Linked DNA regions of Homo sapiens: region 1 is linked to region 2. The links are contacts of gene promoters, found by promoter capture Hi-C in human tissues and cell types (Jung and others, 2019). All regions are on one chromosome and are shown on one strand. Each heading gives the region's core, a stretch centred on a gene start or on the middle of the fragment in contact. The rest is flanking DNA. Distances are from core to core; before and after follow the strand shown. Region 1 overlaps KALRN (kalirin RhoGEF kinase). Region 2 holds the start of MYLK (myosin light chain kinase).

Evidence for each region. Contacts are between HindIII fragments. The study calls those that stand out against the background at their distance.
Region 1: a contact is called between a fragment that was not itself captured here and the fragment with the promoter of MYLK in region 2, in 1 of the 25 tissues and cell types used here (aorta).

The regions. Positions count from the first base shown.
Region 1 is chr3:124,280,692-124,286,178 of GRCh38, reverse strand. The region is part of intron 5 of KALRN (kalirin RhoGEF kinase); the gene reads right to left. Among named protein-coding and RNA genes, the nearest start is that of MIR6083, 91 kb to the left of the region's middle. The HindIII fragment of the contact is 5,025 bases long and covers 1,108-5,487 here.
Region 2 is chr3:123,880,885-123,886,330 of GRCh38, reverse strand. MYLK (myosin light chain kinase) reads left to right here and starts at 1,999. Exons shown (of 34, transcript NM_053025.4): 1 at 1,999-2,125. It also overlaps a transcript of CCDC14 not described here. RefSeq lists a silencer at 1,960-2,119. The HindIII fragment of the contact is 8,771 bases long and covers 1-5,446 here.

The DNA.
Region 1 (5,487 bases), core at 2,371-4,870, 400 kb before region 2:
GAGAAAGAAAGAAAGACGAAAGAAAGGAAAGAAAGAAAGGAAAGAAAGAAAGAAAGAAAGAAAGAAAGAAAGAAAGAAAGAAAGAAAGAAAGAAAGGAAGGAAAGAAAGAAAGAAAACAGCACACTGAAGCACAGAGAGAAAAGCAAATAGAAGCACAGGACACAGCAGAAGAGATGTGGGACATAACTAAAAGATCTAGTACAGTGCCGTCCAATACAACCTTCTGTGATGACTGACATGTTCTATGTCTGTCCTGTCCAGTTGGTTTGCCACTAGGTGCCTTTTGAATATTTGAAATGTGGCAAGTGAAACTGAGAAACTGAGTTTAAAATTTTATTTTTAAGCAGGGTGCAGTGGCTCACGCCTGTAATCCCAGCACTTTGGGAGGCCCAGGCAGGTGGATCATCTGAGGTCAGGAGTTCAAGACCAGCCTGGCCGACATGGCAAAACCCCATCTCTACTAAAAATACAAAAATTAGCCAGGCATGGTGGCGTGCACCTGTAATCCCAGCTACTTGGGAGGTTGAGGCAGGAGAATCACTTGAACCCGGGAGGCAGAGGTTGCAGTGAGCTGGGATCATGCCACTGCACTCCAGCCTGGGCAACAAGAGTGAAACTCTGTCTCAAAAACAAACAAACCAAAAATTTTATTTTTAATTAATTTTTTTATTTGTATAAATTTAAAGGATACAAATGCAATTTTGTTACACGGATAGATTGCATAGTGGTGAAGTCTTGGAGCTTTCAGTGTATCTATCACACCATAATAGTGTATACTATACCCACTAAATTTAATTAGCCAGATGTGGCTACTGACTGTCCTGTTGGGTAGTGTAGTTTTAACACAGGCATACTTAGAGTTCCAGAGGAAAGGAGAGAGAAAATGGGACATGATAGACTCTAAGGATAAGAAGGATATACTACTCCTTCTAGAGTAGTATATTGAACATTGATTCCCTAACATCCAGTTCACCCCAGATCATTTGTTCAAACCAGTCATACTAATTTCACTCCCCTTTTTATTTACATGTTCAGGATTGGGCAAGTCTTAATGAGTATGAACCAACGAAATTGAGGAGAGATTTGCTTAGAGCTTCTGGGAAACAGAAGTCAATGTCTGTGTTTCTCCCTCCTTCTCCTGCTACCCCTATCACTTGGGGAAGAGTGAAGCATGTTGCTCTGTTACAACTGGCAGCTGTCTTAGAACCATGAAGGGAAACAGCCTTGCAAGGAAGTTCTCGGCCAAACAGTGAGATCTCAGCAGAGGAGTGAGATAGAAAGAATCCTGAGTGCCTGAAGATGGGCTCGCACTGATTCATCAATCTTGAAGCTCACATCATTGTCTCTGAATGACTACTTAAAATGTGAAATAATACATTTCCTTGATATTTAAGCAAATTTTACTGTCTTCTGTTTCTTGAAGCCCAAAGCATTCTGATACCAAGAGTCACACCCTCATGATGTTTAGTGTGATTGTTCATTCACTTATTGAGCACTCGTATTCCAGACATTGGGTTAGACACGGGTGATAAAAGATCAAGGCCACGGTCTAGTGAGGGGGACAAACACATTCCATATTCTGTTAATGTTAATAAAATGTGAAAAATACTATAAGAGACGTATACTGTGGGCTGACAGTAGAGGAGCACTTGGTCCAACTTGGCAGAGATAGGGTTAGGGAAAAGCATGGATGGCTTCTGGGTGGCAACACCTGGACAGCACTTGAAAGACAACAGGATTTCATCAGGCAAAGAAGGTGTAGTTTGCAAGGGCATTTTAATCAGAGGAAATAGCTTAAGCAAAGGCCTGGAGGTTTAAAGCAGCAGCATAAAATGAGGGATTGTAAGAAGCCATAGTAGGAGATAGGGAGATACCAGATCACAAAGGGCAAAAGATGCATTGGGGAACCACTGGAGGGGAGTGATAGCTCAGATTTGCTTTTAACTACGAAGTGAGTGTCTAGACTGAGACCCTCCCAGATATACAGGCATTTATCTCATTGCAAAGGGGAGACCAAGCCAGCCTTGATCTCATAGAACAAAAACCAACTAGCACATTGCAGACTTCTCACCAACTGATGGTCTCTGCCTCCGCTTTCTCCTCCATTTTGTTCCCTCTCCCATCTTTTTCACACAAACTATTCAAATGTCTGGGTCAAAGAAGATAAAGATCATAATATGATAATATATGAAAAGTTCTGAGTATAGCATATGATACATAGCAGATCCAGAATGTATGCTAGTCTCTTTCCACTTCCTCTGGGTTCAGACAAGATAAACTGGCAGTCACAACAAGTAGTTGCTGTCTGATTAGAGAAACTAAGACTGCGAAACTTCATGCTAAAATCACACACTGTTCTTGACAGATGAGCTGCAGTTCAGCAGCTGTCTGGAGAAGCACACACTCAATGCTAAGCCTTAAAAGGCCACTCTCCTCGCACTTGCCCTCCTCAAGTTAAGTGATGTAATAAAAAATCTCACCAAGTCATTAATATAAATATTTTCAGACTTTAAATAAGGTGTTTTTGCATTTTATTTCCAGCCTATGAGCCTGGATGCACTTTATTCCCTGCAGCACTGGCAACACACTCATTACCCTCCTGTGGGGAAGGAATGGTCATCCAGGAGCCAGCAAGTCAAGCAGATGAGAAACAGAACTAACCAAGCCAGGAGTCAGCCCAGACAGCCCCGGGATATTGACTCTGAGTGGCCAAATTCCTTCCATTTGAACCACAAATGCTGATAAAATATTTTCAGGAACACAGTGAGGGAATGTACTTCACTCACTTCCCAAAATGTAGACTTGAAGAGGTCAAATCCTATTTAATCCAGGCTGAGAAAATAATGCCCAACTTTATCCCGGAGCTAAATTTAGACATAAACTGAGATCTGGCCCTTGGCAAGTTAATTTAGATGAGCTAATGGTTGTTCCTGGCATAAGGGATACACTCAATAAATGGTAACTATTATTGTTACTGCAAAAATGGAGTGTCTGTTGGATGTTCTCATCTAGTCCTCCCACACATCCTAAAATCGGCTGTGCCAATCACTTGCACATCTGGGAACAAAGCTCCACATGAGGCTAAGGATGAGGCAGCTCTTTCTTTGGGAGCCCCTCTCTGGGAGGAGGCAGGCTTCCCTGTGGGAGCCCTTCTCTTGGGGAGAAGACCACCACCTAGCTATGCTGGTATGTGCTAGGTGGGCCTGACCTTGAGCTTAGGAGGAGGACTAGGCACCCCATTTTGCCCCTTCTCCCCTCTTCCAGCAGCAGCCTCTGCAATGGGGCTCAGACAGGTAAGGGGCCATGCAGGGAGCCAGGCTGGGCACATCCACAAGGAGAAGCTTGGCAGTGTTTCCAGCTTCCAGACCCTACAGGATATACTCTGCAGGGCTTAGGAAGAACTTACTGAATGAAGAGCCCCATCACTCCTCAAGGCTGCCAGAGGACCAAGGTAAATGCCTGTGTTTAGATAGCATCCATTGTCCCTAAAAGTAGGTTAGAGGCCAGGCGTGGTGGCTCATGCCTGTAATCCCAGCACTTTGGGAGGCCAAGGTGGGTGGATCACCTGAGGTTGGTAGTTCAAGACCAGCCTGACCAACATGGAGAAACCCCATCTCTACTAAAAATACAAAATTAGCCAGGTGTGGTGGCACATGCCTGTAATCCCAGTTACTCAGGAGGCTGAGGCAGGAGAATCACTTGAACCCAGGAGGCAGAGGTTGTGGTGAGCCAAGATTGTGCCATTGCACTCAGCCTGGATAACAAGAGCAAAACTCCATCTCAAAAAAAAAAAAAAAAGAAAAATGTAGGGCAGAAATGCAACAACCAGCTAACACATGATAATGTTTTTAGTAACCTTCATAATCACTTCTTTCACTTTTCTGTGCCTTAAAACAAATTAAAATTAAAATTTCATTTAATTATCCATCCTTCTTCCAAAATGTCTTCGGGAATTGTTCCCACTCGTGTCCCACTGCCAATCCTCCTAACACGAAGGCCTTGGTGCTGCCTTTGCCCCCTGACATCCAGCCAGTCACTGGTCTCATTTTCTTCCCTTGAGTGTCTCGAGGGTTTGTCCCTTCCCTTTCTACTTTCACTACCACCTCATCTGTTCCCACTTGGATTAGTATAAAAGGACCAGAACCAGTTTCTTGCCTCCAAATCACTCTTTCCATTGCAAGGTGAAACTTGCTAACACCCCAGTTTTCAACAGTGAGTGCATTAAGGTAGCGTTCCTAGAAACCATTCAGCAGTAGGTGGTGCTCTTGTGTCAGCTCAGTGTTCACAGGTTTTGTTCTATTCTCAAGCAGCCCAGTGAGTACAGACTGTGTCACGGTCAACTATTTATTTGGCACTAAGTATCTCTGGTCAACACAGAGTAATTGAAGACACTGGTCCTAACCTCCAGAAATTTTCAATATAATTGGGGGAATGAGATCTTTGAGCACCTAGCTATAATGCTAGATGGCATGGAACAGGGACAATTTGAGGGGGATGGATAAGGGCTGCAGGAAATGCTCAGAGGGAGAAAGAGCACCTCCAACAGGGCAGAACAGAGAGAGTAGCATCTGAGCTGGACCTTCAGCTGGGGGAGGGTTTTAATAGGCACATATAGTGGAGCAGGCATTCCAAATGGGAGGAGTGTTGGCATGAACAAAGGCATGAAAAGGTGGGAATGTGCAAAGCACAGAAGAGAATGCCCTGAGGGATGGGAGCTGAATGCCCAAGTCCAGTCTCACTCTCCATTCTAGGGCCCTCATGTTTGTACCCCCTCTTGCCACCTCATGACAAGGTCACCTCCCCAGGGAAATCTGGGACAAGCTGGTCAACCCAATCTCTAAAGAGGATGGAGGAAACCAAACCCTCTTTTATCTCTCCACCAGAACGCATATGTTACAGAGTATATCTTCTCACCACATCAGCAGTTGTTCCTATAGCAGGACATTCTTATGCTAGAGAAAGCTTACTAAGGAGAGACTAGAGGTGAACAAACCAAGAGTGGGATTTCAAAGGGGCCATGGGATGGGGGACTGGGGGAAGAACCCTTCTGGGATTCCAGCTAGAGGCAGATTTCCTCCAAGAGATTAATATTCCTTTGCGTGTTTTTTTTCTTTTTTTTATTATACTTTAAGTTCTAGGGTACATGTGCACAATGTGCAGGTTTGATACATAGGTATACATGTGCCATGTTGTTTTACCACAGGTTTCCGACTCTTTACAAGATAAGAGTATGAGGCTTTTGCTCTCCTTGGGAATGACCTCAGGAAGAGCCATGGGATACAGGAATGGGGTTGAACAGTAGATACCCTTGAGTTGGGCTTTTCCCTGAGAAACAGTAACTACTACTGACCTTGGCACCAGAACACTTTAACTCAACATTTTCATACTGGAAAAATCTCTCTGTGCTCACATGTGAGAAGACATCCTCCTGTATTTATATATGAGATGGTGTCTCTCTCTATTCAAGTGAGAGAACATCATTCTCT
Region 2 (5,446 bases), core at 750-3,249:
GAAGGAAAGAAAAAACAAAAAAACTAGAGCTTCTTGGAGAAATGGCTGATTCCAGGTTTGAGGCAGCAAATGTACAGATGTGCCTGGAACATCTTGTCATATCAGATAGCAAGGAAGCTATCAAAGACTTCTAGGGTCTTTGAAGCTCTTTGCACACTAGTGAGAGAGAGAGAGAGAGAAAAAAAAAAAGACTACTAGAATCTTATCAAAAGGAGCCAGGAGCCATATTGAAGAAGCTCCTACTGGCCAAAGATGGGACAATTTGAGCTCTAATATCGTAGATGGAAACCTATCAAATATATTTAAATTCATGAATTTATAATGATATTAAAGAAATCTAAGAATGACAGAGAATCAATTCCTTAACTTGAAAACTGGGTAATTTTTTTAAAAAAAAGCAGGTATTCATCGTGCCTTTCCTATCTCAGGGTAATCAAATAGTAGATGAGAGGAAGCATCTCCTTATCCACTTATGAACTAATAAATGAAAACAAAATTATTAGAATACCATGATTTTGCAAACTTCAATTAATTAATGAATCTAGGAATTGAGCATCGACGGCTGTTAACCTCAAAAAAGAGCAAACACCAGACATCATGATCATGTACCTCTTGAAGAAAAGAACACACAACCATCTATAATCTTACAAAAGACATCAAACTTCAGTCTGAGGAAGACCCTGGATCAGCTGCCAACTTGCTGTCAATACAGAGGACAGAGAAACATGCTGAATTGCCTCATGAATGTGCAACCCCCAGACTCTGGAAAACCTCACAGATCAAGGGCTTAAGTTATTTAACAAATAATTGTAAGGAAAAGACTGAAAAGGCAAATCAAATTAAAAAAAAAAAGAGTGGGGGGAGGGGTAAGGTGCACCCTTGGAAGATACCAAGAAAAACAAAAGCAGCAGAAGTGACTACATGAAAGTCAGGTTAGTGGTTACTTTTGGGAGGAGGGAGAAAGGGGGTTGTCATTGAGGTAGGGCACATGGAGAGGCTCCTGGGGTGGCTGGCAGAGTTCTATTTCTTGATCCAGGTGGTGATTACAAGGATGTTCCCTTTATAATAATTCACTAGTCTATATATCTATATATTTGTTTTTTGTGGTTTTCTGTATTTATGTTTTATTTTACAATTAAAAAATTTTTAAAAACACTCCTTAACCTGCAGTAAACAGTTTTTTTAAAAAAAACAAAAGAAGGTCCAAGTGAAGAGATCAGAAGCTATAAAATATTTCATATTGGGTGCAAACTAAATATAAAGCAAGCCAAAACCAGAAACACCTCCTCCCCCTCCCCTCCCCCCCCTCCCCTTTCCCCTTTTTTAATTTAAAGAACTTTGTAGGTATCTTCCAAACCAATGAGAGATTCTTAACACACACAAAGGGAGGATGTCAGAGGAACCATGGGGCTGAGTTGCACCACTGGAGGATGTCTGAAAAAAACTACATAGACAACCTTCCAGCACTAAAACTTTAGCCCCATGGTTCCGCTGACATCTTCATTTTACAGATTAGAAAACTGAGGCCCAGAGGCAGCCAGTGTCTCATGCACGCTCACGAAGCTAGCATCAGACCCCGACCTAAGGCCTAGGTCTCCCAGTGTAGGACTAAGACACGCACCAAGACAGTACCAGCCCGCTGACCGCCGCCTGCGAGGAGTTAACTGGGGCGGTGCAGGATAAGTGCGAGGGGGGCCCGGGTCTGGCGCTAGGTTTGGCTGCGGATTCTCCGCTCCGGACTCCGAGGCAGAAGGCGGGTGGGCGTGGCGGGAAGGGCAGCAGGTCCACTCCCCGAGCGCTATGCAAATGTCATGCAAATCAGTGCATGGGGGCTGGAGCGGGTGGTTTGAGTCCTGACCCCGTAGCGCCGCGCTCTCACTCGCTCTCCTCAGCGCGCGTCCGCTCTCCGCTCTCCCACTTGCTCTCTCTCTCGCCGGTTCGCTCACCCCCGCCCCGCCCCGCCCCGCCCCGCCCTGCCCAGTCCCGGACGCGCCTCGCGGGCTCCCCGCGCCGCCCGGTCGGCAGCAGGGCGCTGAGCGAGCTCGGAGCCCGCGCTGTGCGCCTGCGGCCGGGGCGCCCCGCCGAGCGCCGGTGCCCCGGCTCCCGGGCCGCCTTCGCCGCGCGGGTGAGTGAGCCCGCCCCATGCTTTTGTCCAGGCGCGGGCCCTGGAAGTCAAGGCTCCGAGGGTGGGAGTTCTGGGTGGGGGCTGGGACCCCCACCGTCTGTGCCTCCCGACTCCCCTAATGGAGAGGGGCCCCGGGGTGCGGCGAGGAGTCAGGGGCGTAAGGAGACGACCCCAGTGACGCCAGGCTGCACGAGTTTTCTTTTGGGGAGATGAAGTGCTTGGGGACACTGATGCGATTGCCTTTCTAGGAATCATCCGAAGGGGGTGCCTTTGATTTGAGGGGCGGAGGAGAAGCGGACCCTTCTCCCAGCTCCCAGACCCTCGCTAGAGGACTCGGTGACGGCCTCTGGGAAGGGGGTGCCACGTGAAGGTCCTTCCAGCCCAAATGTGATTCCGGGAAGGTAGGGCGGGGAAGGCGGCCCGCGAGTGCCAGACCTGGCCATCCCAGGCGAAGCTGGGGCGCGGGCTTTGCAGACTTGTTCCTACTCCATACTCCTCATTTAAGCTCCTTACCTCGCTCTGCCTCCTTCGCGTTAACTGGGGTCCCATTGTTGAGGGACCTTGTTCGCCGATGATTGCAGTTGGAAAGTTTTGGATAAACTTCTCAGGAGATGTGAGTTGTCAATGGTTGAGGTAGACCCCTCCCTGGAACTTATGGAACTAAAACCCTTCAAGACCCAAAGGACTGAATTTCTAGGAGTGGCATTGCAGATGTGAAGATGGGCTGATGGGGAAATGGTTTCAAGGATATATATTTTTTTTAGATTGGGGTGTGTGTGTTGGGGTGCGGGGCACTTTCTATTTCGTAGCCAGAAGGAGAAGACCCAGCTCTACTAGAGTCTAGAGGGAGTAAAATTAGCTGTTGTGATTCAGGGAGCTGGGTGGGTGTAGGGAAACACCTGGGCAGTGGGCATGATGCCAGACCTCAGGCCGTTGGTTTTTACCATCCCTCCTCTCCCCAAGTGCAAAGACCAGAGTATATGCAATGACCCGCCCACCCCACAGCCTTTGAGAGCCTGCCCTGGAGCTGCATCCCCCTTCCAAGAGAGGCTGTGTTCTTCTCCACCTGAATGGAATACTTTTTGTCAAAATGCACTTATCAATAAATTATTTCCAGATGGTGGGCTTAGGAGGACCATTTGGGGAACCCCGCCCACACTTCAAAGAATCAGGAATCAACAATGCAAGTCTCTGGGAGAAGTGTAGGTGCATCTGGTGACTTTACTAGGTTCCTACAAGGCATTTAGGGTTCTAATAGAACTGTTTTCTTTTCTCTTAAATTCTTGACCTCCTTCTCTCTTCCGTGATTCTCTTAGTCTCTTCCCCGCCTGCACACTGTGGGACTGTGGAGGATGATGCTGCTGGCACCACAGTGCTCTAGGGCAGCATGGAATTTTCCTTCCTGCCCAGAGTGAGGTTACCCCTTTTTCTCCCACTCTCAGTGGGCCAGGAGCCTTGGGTCTGGGAGGAACCTGAGCAGTTGGTCCTGGGTCCGGAGTGGTTGGACTCTGGATGCTGGATTGGGTAGCGGGTACTCTGGGGACATGCACAAGAGCTTTTTTTGCCAAGATGTGCAGGTCTGTCTCATTGTTCACTGATGATACAAAGGATGCTGGACCTCATTTGCAGCTAAGCATGAGCTTGGAGAACCACCCCACAGTGGGGAAGCATTTATGCTGGTTTATCTCCCATGTTCAGTTTCTTTTGTGTAATAACTGGCTAGCTGAGGAGGAGGGTAGCTGCAGCATTGTAGATGTTTCCTTGTCTTATTTTTATTTTTATTTTTTATTTTGAGACAGGGTCTGGCTCTGTTGCCCAGGCTGGAGTACAGTGGCGTGATCTCAGCTCACTGCAACCTTGACCTACCAGGCTCAAGGAATCCTCCACCTCAGCCTCCTGAGTAGCAGGGACTACAGGTGTGTGCCACCACACCTGGCTAGTTTTTTGGATTTTTTGTAGAGATGGGGTCCTACCATGTTGTCCATACTAGTCTAATGGGCTCAAGTGATCGCCCACCTCTGCCTCCCAAAGTGCTGGGTTACAGGCATGAGCCACTGCACCCAGCCAGAGTAGTTGCTGTTTGTGTGAGGTTTGCTCACCCCTTCATCAGGGGCTGCTTCCCCAGGGGCCAGATCTTAGAAAACATATGCAGAGCAGACTAGGCCTTGGAACATTCCTAGGCTAACTGGTAAGGCCAGGTGGCCCCACCTGCTGCCTGAAAATGGTAGACAGACAGCTACAGTCACTGCAGAGGAGGGGCTCCTGGCTGGCAGGTGGCGGGGGTAATCTGCTGAGAAGGCTTGTCAGAGAAGGAGGTGACCCAGATGGTGCAGAGGGGAGAGGCCTTTGAGTTCCAAGGGTGGGGAAAGGTTCTGGGTCTCTGGCTAGGGAGATCTTTGCTGGTCTCAGAGGCATAGATTGTGAATGCGCTGGGGTCACCATATACTCAGTGTCTTTGAGAATGACCCCTTGCTTTTATCCTCAAAATATAAGATGAGCCTAGAGTTTGAAACACAACTAGTTGGCTTGTCTGTCTTTTAGGAAGTTCATAAGGTGGGGTGGGGGTTTCAGAATGCAGCCTTGCTTGGGGACATGGGTACAGTGTCCCATGAGTATGGGGTGTCTTATTTAGTATCTTTCTGAGAACAATACTTGGGAGTCTGGAAATATAAGCCTACTTGGAAGCCCAGCTGCACCTCTCACAGCTCAAACCAACCCACACAGGCTGGGAGATTGTTCATTCTTAAAAGCTTCCTGTCCTGTCTTTTCAGCAAATGTAGTAAAATTTAGAAACAACACTTAAAAAGTATCCTTTCCCAACAAAAGACAATGTCCTCGCTCAACTTGGCCAGCAGAGGGTGCATGCAGAGGACATGAGGCAGGGCCATTTGCATGGAAAATGTCCATGTGGATGCTTAGGCCTGAGCAGGGTCTATTGGGTGGCCTGAGTGCTCAGAATCAAGGAACCGTCCAGCAGTGAGCCAGAGTGGGACAGAACGATGTCACTGTGATGAGCTCCTATGCCATGTGACTTCTATCTCTTCCCTGTGCTCCCCCAGCCTCCTACCTTACAAGCAGGCAGACATGGTTGTGCGGGGAAGCAGTGCCCATACAAGCCACGCCCCTCTCCCACCTGCACCATTCTGCAGATGGATTCTCTTTATTCTTCCTTGAGTTTTGGCTGCACACTTTTCCATTCGTTTGATGCCAACAGGTTGAGCAAATGCATTCCCCTCACAAACTCAAGGTGGGTGGACCTCCGTATTTGCACTGCGGGCCAACAGGTGCATCCCTCCTCCTTGTTGCATGCACCTGGTGTGT